3 separate regions of the Homo sapiens genome follow, and regions 1 and 2 are each linked to region 3. The links are contacts of gene promoters, found by promoter capture Hi-C in blood cells and fetal thymus (Javierre and others, 2016). All regions are on one chromosome and are shown on one strand. Each heading gives the region's core, a stretch centred on a gene start or on the middle of the fragment in contact. The rest is flanking DNA. Distances are from core to core; before and after follow the strand shown. Region 1 overlaps CTNNB1 (catenin beta 1). Region 2 overlaps CTNNB1 (catenin beta 1). Region 3 holds the start of ZNF620 (zinc finger protein 620).

Region 1 (3,755 bases), core at 892-3,391, 740 kb before region 3:
GCCCTTTCTCTTTCCCCTGGCAACAGAAAAATGCAATGTAGAATATAATCTTATACATACAGGGGCTACGGTAGCAAGTGGTAGGGAACGGGGGAAGAGGCTGCAAGAAAGCTACAAGAGGCTTGGCCTCTTGGGACAGCTGTCTGGAGTGGGGTTGGGCGAGACTAGGCAAAGCTAGGCAGCCTTGGCCTCAAGCTTCAGTGGGGTTGAGAAGTGGTGTGTGGGAGCAAGAAGCTGGGCCTAGAACGAGGAGTTTTAATCTGCCCTTAAAATCCAGCCTCTGGCCTCTCCCATCAGAGGCTTGATGTTGAGGCGGGTGGACAAATGCATCCATTAGGTGTTTTAATAAATAATTACATTTGAATGGTGATATCCAATCCAGAAGCCTGGTACAAATGAAGCCTGGTGAAAACACCCAAAAGATAGACAGCAGAGTTCCTCCCTCACACGCTGTTAGTCCTCTCCCTGTCTCCTCCTGCAAGGTGCCCATTGCCACTAGGGTCTTCGTGTGCATCCAGGGATGGTCTATGCCTATCTTCACAAAGATTCTGCACCCACCCCTTTTTACCCATATGTGAGCAGCTGTCAACTCTGCTCCTTGCTTTTTCTCTTACTATGTATTTTGAAGACCATTTTATTCCAAAACACAGCTTTATGGGCTGGTTTTTTTTCCCCCCTTTGACTGCAGAGTGGTCCACCAAATAGATGCATCAAAATTTGCTTAACTAGTTAGGTTCCCTTTTGACACCTATTTGGGTTGCTATCTTTGACAGTGTTGCAATGAATTCCTTGTACATACTCGTGAGTATACCTCAAATAATTCTGAGTAGAACTGCTTTGTCACAGAGTGGCTCTCAGTCGTACCTAACATGGAAATTACATTTATGGACACACGGACCTTTCCCTATTCATGCCAAAACCTACTTTGGAAATACATAGAGATGGGGTTTCTCCTTTGCCTTCCTGCATACCCCTATACCTGTTCTGACCTTCCCCCACAACCTCAACTCTGAAACTTGTCACTTCCTTCTACGTTTACTGGAGTCTCAAGTGGTGGAATGGATATTATACAGAATTCCACATAGGAGGCTGCGATAAAAGAAAAAGGAAGAACTGCCCTGACAGCCCCTGCAGCCCCATCATTTCATAATTTCACTTTGGTGGGTGATCTGCTCAAGGCAAGGAAAGGCAGGTTCTCACTTAATAGAACTGCAGATCAACTTAGCATTTTTGCTTTATAAACAAAACAGCACAATTCACATCTTTTTATTATAGCAACCAAGAGTTAAAGAGTGTGTTTATCTTAAGATCTTTCATTATTAAGGATTCAGATCATCAGATTTCAAAGCCTCATGTCTGTAAGATCTGCTCCAACATAGAAAAGCTTCCTTCTTTGGTTCAATGGTGGTTGCTGCAATGGGATCAAATGTCTTAACTCTCAAGGCTGTCTCATAACTACAGCACAACTGAAAAAAGAACACTCAGGCTGGAAAGCCCTCCTATTCTCAACGGCCATGTTCATTTTGTCATTTTCACCTCCTGTACCCGGAAATGCAAGTGGGCAGCATTCCTTTTAGGCCTTTTCCTCCCCACCACTACTTCTCTTATTGAAAACTTGACCTCACTTTCTTCACCACTATTTACAGGAAAGGTTAGGTACCTTGCCAGCATCCCATGCACCTCCCTCTCCAGGTTAACCATTATTCTGATTTCTATAGTCATCTAATCATCTCCTTGCTCCATCTGTGGATATTTTCCTTAAAATAGCTTGTCCCTTTTTTTAATTGATGATCAATGGAGTTCTAAAGCATGCATCTGTAACTTGCTTTTGTTCAGTGTTATGTGAGATAGATATATGCATACTATACTGACACCCACATCACTGAAGCTGTAGTTTTTCACTGCACTGTCTCGTGTGAACAGAGATTGTTGGACACATGGGCGTCCAGTGTAGACTGTCAGCGTTGTGCCCTACCAAGCCTTACTGGCGCTTGAGGCAAAAGAAAAATCAGTACTACTGCCTTTATTTAAAATCTTGATATTTTGTTGGGTCATGGATGTTTTTCTGTATTGTTTTATTCCAACGGCTGTTTCACACCTTTATGAAAAAGTTGCTCTCCTCCCACTCGGATCTCCAACGCTGTCTCTGAAGAGTCTTTAAATGCCTGTGTATTATTCTGTATTAATCTGTATTTATATCCCTATTCCTGTAACAGGGTTAACTAACTTTAGCTTTGTATTAAGTAGTTAGGCCTTGACAGCTGCTAGAGCAAGTGCTATTTTTCCTAAGCGTCTTGGCTATTATTCACCCTTGGTACTTCCAGAGCCACCTTGTTGAACTGGATTAACTCTCACATTAAGTTTTTAAACTTCAAAAATAAAATACAATGAATTAGCAAAGCTCTGAAAACATTCTCTGGTTTTAAAAAGTTGTTCTTTCTGTAATTGAAACACCGTGCGGTGGCTCTTTATGTTAAAAGCTGAATTCACTGAAGATCTTCACGGTGTTAACCTACCAATAGCCCTAGGCTTCTTGAAATACTGGCTGGTTTGGTTTATCACACATGAGACAGAACCTGAGACCTACCACATCATCAGCTATGTGAATGTTTCTTTTCAAACCCTAATTACATTTTAGACCACAATGAATTCATTTTTGCAAAGCAAGGGCATTCACAAAAAGGCCTCCCCAGATGAAGCTGATTTTTAACGAAAAAGAACTGAATGTATGTTTTTCTCATAATTAATAGTCACTATCAATCATCATCAAAATAAAAACAGTAAATCAGAAAGAGCTCTCCCTAAAGACAAAACACTTCTTTCTTTTACTTTTTAAAAGACCAAAACACAAGTCTTAACAAACAGGTCTACCTGAAGAGATGAGATGAACTAAGCTTGTCAGACCTACCACCGGGATGATAGGATCATCTGGCAGGTACTGTGGAAGGCTCATTCTGGTTCTGATTATGTTCAGATAAACATCAACACTTAAACCTATTTAATTTATTTAATTATTATTAGTTCAAAGTCCAGTTGAAGGAATTCCCCTCTCCCAATGAGTCACACTTGGGTGAAGGTGATTCAAATCCAAATCCAGGTAGGGGTAGTTACTATTTATTTCATTACTTTAATGGAATCAAATCATCTGAGGGGGATTGGGGTAGAGATAGATAGATGGATAGTCTGCTTGGCTTTCTCCCACCAAAGCCCAGAACTAATCACAATGTGCAAGGCTGAAACACTTTTTTAGGGGTCCAGCGTAATCCAGGGCCAAATGCTAAAGAAACTTGGCAAATTGCATCTAGAGAAGTAGGGCCCTCTCTATCGCTACAACAAATTACTTCACTATGTATCTATCTATCTCAGGATAAAGTTCAGGATAAAGTTGAGTTGGATAAACTTACTTACCACCCTCACAAACCATTTATTAATGACAAGAAAAAAAGAAAGAGTGACACAATCGAATGAATTAAAAGTTTAATTCTGAACCATTTTTTATAACCGCATTTTCTCTTGAAGCATCGTATCACAGCAGGTTACAACAACTTTGGGATAAAAGGCAACTGGTAAACTGTCCAAAACAAGGTTCCAAATAACACCTCTTACTGATTTACCCTACCCATACATATCCCAAATAGTTTTTGATCAAAAACATGAAATAGATCCACCTGCTTATTTTAAGCATATTAAAAAGGAAACTAATTGGACCATTTTCTATTTGTCTATTTTATACAAAAAGGCTACACAATTGTTAC
Region 2 (3,652 bases), core at 144-2,643, 700 kb before region 3:
GATAGATAAACTGTAGGTCCCAATGGGATTGATGGGCTGTTGGAACTGACGTATTTACTAGAGGAATTAGAAAGTGGGATGCTTGAAATGAGATTGGGGGAAGAGAGCAGAGTTACAGATAAAAGACAAAATATTCTAGGATATGACAATGGGAATATGTAGTTGAGTTAGGGTAGAAAATAAGATCACTGGAGAAGAAATCAAGGAACTAAGAGACCAGGATATTGGAAGCATCTTCTACATCAAAATTTGTACCAGACTGTAAATCAACATATTGCGTCCTTCATCAAAATCTTGCTACAAAAAAAGTAAGCTAAACAGTAAACTTAGTGACACAGGTGACTTATATTCTGGCATAACTCCTTATCTTAATTCATACAGGTAACAGTTACCAGACCACATCTTCACTAGTATTGCTCTACATAGATACTGATGTCACCAAGAATTATGACAGAAATAAGAGACAGTGACAATGAGCCAAGAGCTAATGAAGTGAACAAAGAAGGATGTGAATGACCCAGGAAGGTTTGCAGGTGCTTGAAATAAAGACAGGCAGTGGGTGGTATAATTTGATCACATGAAAGTCAAAGCTTGAAGTTTTGGAAAATAAAGGTCAAGAAGTGACAATAAGGAACAAAAGCAGACATTTAGTCCACACACCTCCTAGTTCAGTGTTATAAGGTGTGCAAGAAGGGAAAAATTCACCACTTGAGAGAGCTGCAAGGGAAGTAGCATTCTTGGGGAGAAGGCTAGGTTACAGCTGGAATAAGAAAGAAAGGAACATTCACAAGATTGAGAATATAAAGGATTTTCTAACGACTGAGTTCCAGAAGTTACAATGAATGGATTTCAGATGATGAAAGGTGGGAGATGGGGACCAAAAAAAGCAACAGGATTAGAGTCTGGGGGATAAGAGTTAAAACAGAAGAGCCAGTGTAACTAAAGTAACAATGTCCTTGAAAAGGCATGCCTCAGGACTGGCCTCTGCCCAGAATGCAGTACTACTTCCTTCATTGTAAAGACAGACCATTGATGAAATCTGATGGTAACAAGGTGAAGGGGTTCCTACTTAGCTCCTGATGGGGGAGAGGAGAGGGGAAGTTCAGGAGAAAAGGGAAGGTATTAAACAGCCCTTCTGTCTTAGATCTTTTCAGACAAATGTAATAGAATCTGCAGCATAATGGCAATAAGGAAAAACCTGAGGCCCTTTAGCATATAATGAGGGCGCTCTTCAAGCATGAGAAGTATTCTTCTAAAAAATCAAATTTTAATTATTTCCCAGCACCCACTTATCAGCAACACCATTTTAACCATAATTAATTACTCTGCCTCAACGGTGACCCCTGATCTTCTGGCATTCCTAGATATCTCATCTGTAAACTTTCTAGCCTCTTCTTATTCTATGGGGAACAGAATGCTGACACTCTGAATCAGGACCCAGGAAAAACGACAGCACAATTAAGCAGGAAACAGTGATCAACGGGGGACAACTACGATATACAAAGTAACAAGATAGTTGGGCTTGAAAACTAAACAATAAAATTCAGCAAAATGCCAGAAAATTGATATACTAAATTTATAATCTATTTAAAGAGCGGTATGTCAGTGTATTACGTTTCCTAAATAGCATTCAGTTTGTAACTTTTGTATCTAAATGAACTATAAAGTATAAGCGAAGTTTGAGGACATTCTTTCAATGGCTCAGAAAGGAATTTAAGGGTCTACCCCAGCACTTTCCTACACAGGGGAATGAACTCCACTTGGAAGCCTCCAAAGTTACTTGGATTGAAAAATATTTCCAAGAATCCCTTGTTCCTCCCTTATACATGTGGCATTCATCTAGTATATGCAAAACTTCAAAGACACTCACTCCCTACACCCTTACCCCAAAACCACTTAATTATACTTAAAAAAGAGAGAGAGGGAGTACAGTTCCTAATCCCTATTACAGCTGTTCAGTTTACTTCACAGTAAAGGAAAATTAGGAGCAGTTTGCAACAACTATCCCCCAGTGTAGCAAACTACTATCACCACTTAAGATCATCTTCAAATTGCACTCCCAAGAAATTTTGCAGTAAATTTAACTTCTTACACATTTTTATATGGACATCCAATAAGGTATGCTATATATATGCACATATATATGCATATATCTATTTCTGCTATTACAAAACCCTGTTAGTAAGAGAAGCTTATCACACTAAACCTAACACTTCAGCTTTTTTGTACGTCTTTGGCTTCCAACTCAGCTACCAGCATTTAAGATTTATTAATCATAAGGTTTATATGCCATGTAGACTGATTAACTTGAACTAACTTAAAGTAGGTTAAAAATACCCCCCAAGTTTTAAACGGTTTAACATATCTGTTACAAGTCAGTTAAAAAGAATTAGTCCAGCAACATGTGAATTACTAAAACAGAAGTAAAACCGTGGGGATATTAGTGAAAAAATAAAAATATGGAAATAAATAGGGGAGAAAATGGAAGTGTTATGAAGCAGTTTCACCCCAGCATCATTCAGATGTTCACACTCTTCAAACCATCATAAAGAGGGGGTGGAAAAGCCTTTTCAACAAGTTCAAAAGATACCAGAGGTAGGAAACTTCTGGGATATTACACAAGAAACTTTACAGTGGTTCCACGAAGTCTCATGGAGATTGTGGGATAGACTTGGGGTGAGACGCCTTTAGGATTAATGTTTCATGAATGGTTCACTGATCTGCTTGTATTTTACACCATCGTATCGTAATAAAAATAATTGCAGACTACAGCATTATTTTCAGATGATGCTTTTTAAACCAACACCGGCCTATGATTTACATTTTCACTCCAGTCACTTAAACACGGAGTTTGAAGACTAAACACCCCACTTTTCTTTCTTGAGATGGAGTCTCGCTCTGTTGCCCCAGCTGGAGTGCAGTGGCGTGATCTCAGCTCACTGCAACCTCCGCTTCCCAGGTTCAAGCAATTCTCATGCTTCAGACTTCCAAGCAGCTGGGATCACAGGCACCTGCCACCATGCCTGGCTAATTTTTGTATTCACCACGTCGGCCAGGCTAGTCTCGAACTCCTGACCTCAGGTGATCCACCCTCCCCAGCCTCCCAAAGTGCTGGTACTACAGGCACCAGGCCACCCCACTTTTCAAAATCTGGAAATACCTTGTTAGCAGCAAAAGATTTAACCAAAATCGATTTAACTGCCTACATAAACTTAAATTGGCCAAAAAGCCATTTGCCATTAATTTAAGTAAAACGTTTATATTCAATTAATTTTTAATTACCTAAACTGTTTTTAAGTTTTGGATCTAGTCTAACAGTAATAGTTTAGCTTAGAAATGCAAACTTCTGGTAAAAAGGACATGATTTAAAGACCAGTAAAATTGGGGGCTGACTTGAGTTGTATACACAGAATTTGTCCAGCATTTGACGTCCCTTCAGATTAAGTTTTGAGACCTCTTAAAAATACACTTAAAGAACTCTATTTAAGATGGTTGAGTAATAAGAAAGTTACTTCTCCCCCTTTTCCTTGAACCTGGCCATCTTAATTCCTAACTTTAAAAATGTGGGTTTCCCAGTCTTCACAAATAAGTTGATAATATAAATCTTGCTTTTAAGCTCCTAATCTATAATCAATTGACACAAGGCATTTCC
Region 3 (3,481 bases), core at 333-2,832:
AGGGAATATTTCTCATTCTATGGAACAAAGACATCACAAGAAAAGAAAACTGCAAATCAATACCTCATAAACATAGATACAGAAATTCTAAATAAAATTTTAACAAATTAAATTCAATATATAGTACTAATAAAATAATAATACACCATGACGAAGTCGGTTTTATCCCACCGCAGAGTTGGTTTAATATTTGAAAGAAAAATCATGTAATTCACCACATTAACAAAGAGAGGCTGGGCACGGTGGCTCACGCCTGTAATCCCAGCACTTTGGGAAGCCAAGGTGGGGGAATCACGAGGTCAAGGGATCGAGACCATCCTGGCCAACATGGTGAAACCTGGTCTCTACTAAAAATACAAAAATTAGCTGGGTGTGGTGGCGCGTGCTTGTAGTCCCAGCTACTCGGGAGGCTGAGGCAGGAGAATCGCTTGAACCCCAGAGGTGGAGGGTGCAGTGAACCAGGATCGCGCCACTGCACTCCAGCCTGTCGATAGAGCAAGACTCCATCTCAAAAAAAAAAAAAAAAAAAAACCATATGGTCATCTAAATAGACACAGAAAAAGCAATTGTCAAAATCCAACATCCATTCCTATAAAAACTCTCACCAAAGTAGTACTAGAAGAGAATGCCTGATAAAGGACATTTACAAAACAAAACAAAACAAAAAAGCAAGAAACCTACAGTGAACATCAGTCTTCAGTGTGAAAGATTGAATGCTTTCACTTTAAAAGCATAAATAAGACAAAGATATCTGCTCTCACCACTTCTGTTCAATATTGAAATAATGCTTCTAGCCAGTGCAGTAAGGCAAGACAAAATAAAATAAAAGGCATCCAGACTGGAAAGAAAGGAGTAAAACTATCTTTACTCATAGATGACCTATGTAGAAAATACAATGGAATCTACAAAACAGTTACTAGAATTGCTATACTGAAGAAGTAAGTACTTCTCCAAGCCTGCGGACTAGGGTGAAAGGGGTCTTTATTGGATGTAATAATGCAGATTTCCACATTTCATAATTTTTATTTTTAAGCTGGCTTCAAATGCCAAATCCCAACCAATCCCCCCACACTCACTAGTTTTCTAGTCTTAATTTGGGCATTCTCACCTCTCCATCCCTCTCATAGTGACAGATGCACAATGGAAGCCACTGGCCTACACAACTCAAGATCTGAATGCAGAGGTGACACCTGCTCTCTCTTGACATCTAAAGGGTGGGAGGGAGGGAGAGGATGCTCACTCACCTGGCGCCAAGCGGTCTGGAACATGGCTGGCGTCCCAGCTTCACACACTGCCTCAGGGTTCGGAGAAGTGAAACTGAAGAGAAAATAAAGAAGCACCGGTGAGATTGATGCTGCCTCGCACCCCGCAAATGCCCTCTGTGCTACTTGGGCCCCTCTCCTTTCCGCCAACTCCTCACCCCAAAAAGCAAAGGGGTTGCAAAACCAGGCAGAACAAGCCCCAGGAAAACCAATCAGTTACCCGGACCGCGAACCTCTTCAGCTCGGACCGCGAATCCCGCGCGGCGCAGGCGCAGATAAAGCGTGGAAATTCCACCTGCCGCCGACACCGGGGAAAGCTTGAGACCCTCCGCCGGAAGTGCGTTTTCCATGCCCCTCCTCTCTAGGAACCTGGGAAGTTGCCAGTCTCTGTGGTTTCCTACCCCCGCCGTCAGCGCCAGTGTCCCTACTGCCTGAGACAACACGGGCCCGAGCGGGCGGCCCCAGGCAGGGGTCCTGCAGCGCCCACACCTGGTAGCTCCTTCGGGGCATGACGTCTGGCCAGCTCAGGCCACAGAATGGTTACTATCCTGGGTATTATTCGTGGTTATCTGGCATTTGCCACTCTGGGTGTCCTTCCAGATAATGAAGGGACCATCGCGCCCTTCACATGCGCCAAAACTGTCTGGATTGTGTGGGTGCGCTGCAGTGGGAAAAGTGGGTGTGGGGAAAGGCGAACCCATTACTCAGAAGGCCGAATGTGTATGGACTACGTAGGTCCAGAAACCCAGCTGCACCACTTGCTAGTTGTGTGACCTGCAGCAAGTTTCTTTGCCCCGGTTTCCTTGTCTATTAAATGGGTATTATGATGGTGGTACCAACCTCTTGAGGCTGTTCAGGGTTAATTCATTAAATTAGTTAATTGATAGGTAAATTATTTACAGTTGTGCCTGGCACATAGTATGTACTCGTGAGTTTGTATTGTTTTGTTTTCCAATTGTGTTTTTTGAAGACACAAAATAGGTGCTGCTGGGACTCCAATATGTGGCGTGCTTTAGGGAAATAGATTTTTTTAAGGACAATTTTCGAAGTTTAGCGAAAGAGCTATTAACATTTGGCTTAGAGCCCTTTCCTGCCCTGTACTGGGATGTGTGTCCCGGCCCAGCCTGGAAACAGATTTTAGTTATTCCTTCCACAGGAATTAGATTTATCCACCACTTTCAAAACAAGTCCTGCCATGGAGAGTATATTATGTATCTACTGCTGGATAATAAACTACTCTAATGCTTTGTGGCTAAAAACAATAAACATTGTTATCTTTTGACAGTTTCTGTGGACCCAGAATTCAAGAGCAGCTTGGCTGGGTGGTACTGGCTGAGGGTCTCTGCTGAGGTTGCAGTCAGGTGTCATGTGGGGCTGAAGTCATCTGAAGCTTGACTGAGTTTGGAGGATCCACCTCCAAGGTGGTTTACTCACATGGCTGTCAAGTGGGTGCTGGTTGTTGGCAGGAAGCGTCAGTTCCTTCCCATGTGAGGGTTTTCACAACATGGCATGTAGCTTTCTCCCAAAGTGAGCAATCCAAGAGGCCAAGGCCAAAGCTTTTATGACCTAGTTTTGGAAATCATGCATCATGATTTCCTCAATACATTCTCCTCAGATTAGTCATGATTCAGTGTGGGAAGAGATACACAAGGTTTGAATGCCAGGATATGAGAACCATTGGGAGCCATTGTGGGGCCACCTAGCACAGAGATTTTAACTGTCACAGAAACAGTTCATTTTATAAAATCTATAGTATTTTCACTTTAAAGTTTATGCACAGCACTTGTTTTAAATAATTAGATTTCCAGAAACAATGGCATGACAAGGACATACATGTGCATACTGTCCCTTCGCTAAACCTATTAAAATGAACATTTACCATGAGTGGGTGCACATAAACGTACATACATATACACCACAAATTCTAAACAGTATTAGCCAGTGGAAAAAAACATGATAAATTGGACTTAATCAAAGTTAAATCTTCTGCTTTTCAGAAGATACTTTTAGAGAATGAAAAGACAAGCCACAGACTGGGAGAAAATACCAAAAATATTTGATAAAAGACTTGTTTCCAAAATATATAAAGGACTCTCAAAACTCACTCATAAGAAAATAAACCAATTTTTAAAAATAGGCAAAAGATTTGAACAGATACTTCACCAAAGAAGATATATGGAAAGCAATTAAATATTTGAAAAGATGCTCAACATTGTTAG

The links. Contacts are between HindIII fragments. The CHiCAGO score rates a contact against its expected background, and 5 or more counts as called.
Region 1: a contact is called between a fragment that was not itself captured here and the fragment with the promoter of ZNF620 in region 3, in 1 of 17 cell types (M0 macrophages). The highest score is 6.0, in M0 macrophages.
Region 2: a contact is called between a fragment that was not itself captured here and the fragment with the promoter of ZNF620 in region 3, in 3 of 17 cell types (naive B cells, total B cells and naive CD8 T cells). The highest score is 6.2, in naive B cells.

The regions. Positions count from the first base shown.
Region 1 is chr3:41,240,151-41,243,905 of GRCh38, reverse strand. It overlaps CTNNB1 (catenin beta 1), which reads right to left. Exons shown (of 15, transcript NM_001904.4): 15 at 3,463-3,755. Among named protein-coding and RNA genes, the nearest start is that of CTNNB1, 43 kb to the right of the region's middle. The HindIII fragment of the contact is 1,510 bases long and covers 1,387-2,896 here.
Region 2 is chr3:41,204,906-41,208,557 of GRCh38, reverse strand. All of the region lies in intron 1 of CTNNB1 (catenin beta 1), which reads right to left. Among named protein-coding and RNA genes, the nearest start is that of CTNNB1, 7.2 kb to the right of the region's middle. The HindIII fragment of the contact is 1,601 bases long and covers 593-2,193 here.
Region 3 is chr3:40,504,140-40,507,620 of GRCh38, reverse strand. It overlaps ZNF620 (zinc finger protein 620), which reads right to left and starts at 1,582. Exons shown (of 5, transcript NM_175888.4): 1 at 1,483-1,582; 2 at 1,245-1,317. The coding sequence starts at 1,268. The HindIII fragment of the contact is 1,073 bases long and covers 1,582-2,654 here.